Regions from separate parts of the Homo sapiens genome. Here region 2 is linked to region 1. The links are contacts of gene promoters, found by promoter capture Hi-C in human tissues and cell types (Jung and others, 2019). All regions are on one chromosome and are shown on one strand. Each heading gives the region's core, a stretch centred on a gene start or on the middle of the fragment in contact. The rest is flanking DNA. Distances are from core to core; before and after follow the strand shown. Region 1 holds the start of GRIN2B (glutamate ionotropic receptor NMDA type subunit 2B). Region 2 overlaps GRIN2B (glutamate ionotropic receptor NMDA type subunit 2B).

Region 1 (2,638 bases), core at 85-2,584:
GAGCGTTAGTGGAGGAGGCTCTGTGTGGAGAAGCTGGGGGCCGGCTCCGTCCCTCGGTGGAGCATGGTCATTCCCAAAGCGTCCCCTTCCTAAGGGGGAAAAAGAGGCGGTCAGGGCTTGATTCGCGTGTCCCCCGGAGGGTGAGAAAAATGCATTCCGAAAAAGATATCAATTCGTTTTAAGGAAAGGGGGGAGGAAACCCCGCATTTCCCACAGAGTGCACACGAGAGGAATTGAAAACAGCTGGTACCGGTCTATAAATAATTCAGAAAAGGTCTGGCTATACCATTCCTGGGACAGGCACGGATGAGAGGTGGGAAAGCCAACCTGAATGGAAGAGGAGAGAGGGAGGGAGCGAGCGAAGGAGGGAAGTGGGAAGGAAGGAGGAAGGGGGGGAGAAGCGGCACCATACAGCAACACACACTCACACACACGCAGAAACACAATTCCCACTTAACTCGCCAGCGAGTGCGGCCCCCAGCCCCATCTGCATTGCTGCTGACTTGTCTCGCTCGCTCTCCCCATCGCCTCCAGCAGCAGCGCCGCCTCCCACCCCGGGCTTGTGCTGAATGGGTTCTGATTGTGCACGGGGTGCACACTGGGCATTTCTTGGAAGGGGCACACTGACGCGCGCACACACGCCCCCGACGCGCACGCGCCCCGCGCGCACTCACACTCACCCCCGCGCACACTCACCCCCGCGCACACTCACGCTGCCGCCGCGCTGAGGTGCAGCGCACGGGGCTTCACCTGCAACGTGTCGATTGGACGGATGGGCTCGGCGCGTGGGTCCGGCCCGGGGCGCCGCTGCCCTGCCCCTCTGCTAGGTGAAGGGATGAAACCCCCCAAAAGACCAGAGACAGCCCTACCCAGTCACAGCACCCCCTCCCCCACAAAAAAAAAAAACCTTTAAAAAAGCCACGTCCAAATTAGCAAGTGCCGGGTTCTGCTGGATTTCAGAGCTTTACCTCATGCCAGATTCGTTCACGATTTCACGGCTTCGACCCTTTATCTGCCTGACACCCCCAAACCCCTACATTCAAAGGAGAGACTCCAAAGCCCATCTTTACGTACCGGCTCCGAGCGCCTCCGCGGTTGCAGTCTGCGGAGAGGGGTGGCCGGTGGCTGGGAATGGAGGGTTTTCCTTTCCTGCAAAGCAGGATTAATGATCCGTCTCGGGGGTTTTGAAGTTCATGACTCTTCTTTGCAAGGCAAAAGGATATGCATTCGGACGCCAGCACTACTGGATGGTGGTGATCAAGAATCACCCTTGACGAGCACTCTCGATAGAGCGAAGCCCCGAGATTTCCTAGAGGTGAAGAAGCCGGAGGAAGTGGTTTTTGAAAGGGGGTGGGGGGAACCTTCCTTTCTCAAAAAGAGGTGGGGGGTGGAGAGGCAGGAGCCCAGATTCCAGTTGGTGAGGATCGGAGCCGGGGGAAGGGAAGCGGGCGGGGGCAGGCTGTGCAAGTCAACCGCGCGGCAGCCGGAGAGGGAGAGCAGGAGGGGAGGAGGGGAGCGTCAGAAAAATGGGTATTAATCACCGGGGACGGGGGGAGGCGCGGGGAACGCAGGTTGCCTGGTCTGGATTTGGGTCTCACACTCAAAAACGTGCCGCGCACACACACACAGACACACACACACCCCCTACCTCGCACACCCTGACTCCGGGGGGAGGAGAAACCCACGAAGCTGGGGAAGATACTGCTTCTGCTCCCAGGGGCGGGTGTGAGCGCGCGTGTCCTCTTTCTCCACACCCCCCACCCCACCCCACCCCCAAGCCCCTGCACCCCCTCACTCCTCTTGCTAAGACTCTGGCGGAGGCAGCTTCCCACGTCATGTGCTGGGGAAGTGGGGTGGTAAGGTGGATGGAAGGGGGACGGAAGGGGGAAGAAGCTTAGCCCGAGTCCGTGGCGCCTCCTCCCGGCCGCAGCGGGGAACAGCACCGACGGAGAGCGGCTGAGGGGCGAGGGGAGCTAGACAGTGCCCCCCGTGGGCGGCCCGCGGGCTGCGGAAAGCATCTCCAAGGCGGAGCTGTAGTTCGAAATTGAAGACCCTTGCTGTATTTTCCATAAATCAGCCTGTGCTTCCTACGAGCATTCTGTGTGTCGGACGCAGTCTGGGACCGGGTTCTTTCTTGCCTTCAAGGAGCTTAAGATCTATCTGAGCACACGAGGCTGACGCCTAACACAATAGAAAACAAAGCAAAGCAGGTGTCATTCGTGGCTAAATTGTATAGTATGGACCATACGCGTGCTTTTCTGGCTGCTAGTGAAGGCGGGAGGAGTTTGACATTTTTTATTAAAGTGGATCCTGTTATTTAAATGCCTTGAGAAGAGAAGATGGTGAGGCCCGTGAATAATCCCTAAAGGAAACTGGATTTCCTGGCATTTACAAACCCACCCTCTTTGAAAAGGCAAACATCCATTCATTTCTCTTCCTATTGAACTCTTTTATATTTTAATAGCCCTTATCACCACCTGTAGTATTGTTTACTTTTAACATTAATATTATTGTATATGCATCATTTTCATTCTCATCCATTGTCTTTTCAAATATCTAGAATACTACAGTGGTGGAACATTTTCATATTGGTTATATCATGGGCTTCTCACCAGCATTCCTGAGAAGCGGCCATACA
Region 2 (2,638 bases), core at 46-2,545, 120 kb before region 1:
AGCCCCAAAGCCATTCCCACTCCTTTCCCCCCTTGTCACCTCCACCAGAGAGACTTGCAACGTCCACAGAGTTGCCCATGTGACATTGTTTGGGCTCATGAAATCAAGGATGTGGGGAAGACTTCTTCTAATCCAATACCAACCCACTTCTTCTTCCTTCGTTAAGTATGAGCATGATGGATGACTAACGCTGGAGCAGCCACCTTCCAACCATGACAAAATGCCAGGCGAACCCCAGATGTCAGTACTGACATCACTGAGCCAGTGAACCACCCCCAGCAGCCTCTGTCTCTAGACTCTTTGTTCTGAGACACCCACAGACTCATTTGTTTAAGCTACGGTGAGCAAATCACTACCTAAAGGTATTGGACAACATAGTTAACCTCTCTGATCTATAGTTTCCTTGTCTCTAAAATAAAGATAAAATATGTGCCTTCTAAATTCAATGAAAACATTAAATGAGATAAAATATATAAGATGACTAGCTCATATAAAGTGACTAACTCAGAGTTTGACAAAAAATAAATGATCAGTGTCAGTCTTTCTCATCATAACCTCAAAATAACTTACAATAATTAGATCTTCTTTGTCCGTGTAAAATAGAATTATAGCAATAAACCTTTATTGTACTCAGAAAGGTAGAATAAAAATAACCACCTTTAATGTTACTCTCCTGCATGCTAGACCTTTAAACTACAGAATCAAAATACAATTTTGAATAAAATGTAGATCTAACAGTAAGACAAAAAGAATCACAGAAGTCTCAGAAAGGGGACTAAAAATATACTCTTTGTATAGAACTCATAATTCAGGGAGTTTTTTTCAGCAATATCAATGTGATGTAAAAATTGGCTGGCAATATTTAGTAAATTTATGTTTTCTTGTATCTGTAACATTTTACTACTTCCCACCTAGTACCACGAATATTTTCTTCATGTAATAATTCACTTTTTTTTAACATATTAACACTTCCAAATCTATGAGTGACTCTGATTCAAACACTATTTTATTCCGTTATGTTTTTAGAAAATGATCTTGACTTGTCTTTAATGCTTATATCCTATGTGTATCAGTTTGTTGAAATCACTTTATGTCTCTGCTTTGAAAATCCTGATAAGTTCTGATCAAGTCAATATCAGTAATTGCATCACCAAAGAGGTGGAACCTACTGAGCTGTTGTTTATCCACCATGTCTAAATGGAAGCAGGTTAACATCCCCAAATCTTCTATTTCTGTTAATAGGAAAAATTAGAATCCATTTTCCTCAAGTGATTTAGGACAAGTCTGGTTTTTGAGAATGCAAGATGGCATATACTAAGCACCAACTGTCTACCATGCACTGGGTACATTGCGTCATAAGGCTTGCTACCCTTTATAAGCTGGGTGTTATTTTTGTTTTCACTTTACAGAAGGAGATTTTGAGGCTCAGAGAGTCTGAAGAGTCCAACTAAGGTCACATGGCTGAGAATGAATAGAGCTCAAGCCCATTGACTCCAAAGTCTGCATTCTCTCCTTGTGCTGGTACCTTCTTTTAGACACCATCACGTCCCTGGAAAATGTATGACAAGTGATGGCTGGTGTGTTACTTTCCAGCACCAAGTGCCTGTATTTCTATGAATGTCGAAGCAATTTCTGGGCTTCAATTGTTACAAGCATTAACACTGCTCCTAAAGAAAATCCTAGCTCCAATTTTTAAAGACAGGATGTGCTGGCCAACAAGAAACACATTTCACAGAAGCAGGTGGAAAGAGCCAGCCAGACAGAGCTACATCACTACAAAGTTTCCAGTGCCTTAGAGAGCACTGCCTACCCATCTTTCCCCAAAATATAGTTCAAGTAGGGAAAATTGGAGAGAAGAAACTGAACTCCAGGTAATTTTGTCCTGGCTTTTTTTTCTTACTCCCTCATCGTATGCACTGGGAAAAAGTCTTAAAGTCAAGCATGTCTGAATTCAGATTTCAGTCCCACTATTGTTGTAGATGTGTGACTTTGGCCAACATACATAAACGCTCTCTGATTTAGTTTCCCCATCAAGAAAGAAGAAATACTACTACTTCCCTCATGGGATTGCATAAGAATTAAAATGCTCATTAACATCATGCCTGGTTCAAAATTGACATATTATGTTAGTTTTTTTCCTCTCACTTTTCCTACCTCTATGTCTTAATACCCTTCATCCAAGAAATGCCATAACATTACAGTTTTCTCCCAAAGTATTCTGTCCCGAGGAATATTATATCACAGACAACTAAAAGCAAGGTAACAATCTAACAGACACCAGAAATTAGTGAAGAAGCGTAGGGTAAGGCATGAGTAACATGTAGCCATCTTGGTTTCAAGATTATGTTGGATATGCAAATCCATATGAGCCAAGGGAAGGCAATAGTCTACTCCCAGTGTCACACACCACTGCCAGCCCATCTACTCTCTCCAAACCCACTGTCATTAAGCAAGTGGGGGTAGAGGATAGGGGAAGAGGGCCAGAGGATGAAGCCAAAGAAGAGTAGGGCCATCTTCCTATCCCCAATTAGATTCCAAAATGTGGCTCTCAGTACAGAAAATGAAAAGTGCTATTGAAAGCATCCATTCCCAAAGAAGCAATTTATTATTTATTTTATTTTATTTTTGAGACAGAGTC

Evidence for each region. The method cuts DNA at HindIII sites, captures the fragments that hold promoters and counts their contacts. A contact is called where the count stands out against the background at its distance.
Region 2: a fragment that was not itself captured here is called in contact with the fragment with the promoter of GRIN2B in region 1 in 3 of the 25 tissues and cell types used here (liver, mesendoderm cells and pancreas).

Annotation. Positions count from the first base shown.
Region 1 is chr12:13,980,268-13,982,905 of GRCh38, forward strand. GRIN2B (glutamate ionotropic receptor NMDA type subunit 2B) reads right to left here and starts at 1,335. Exons shown (of 14, transcript NM_000834.5): 1 at 1,075-1,335; 2 at 1-89. The HindIII fragment of the contact is 12,156 bases long and covers 1-2,638 here.
Region 2 is chr12:13,857,720-13,860,357 of GRCh38, forward strand. All of the region lies in intron 3 of GRIN2B (glutamate ionotropic receptor NMDA type subunit 2B), which reads right to left. Among named protein-coding and RNA genes, the nearest start is that of GRIN2B, 120 kb to the right of the region's middle. The HindIII fragment of the contact is 9,169 bases long and covers 1-2,638 here.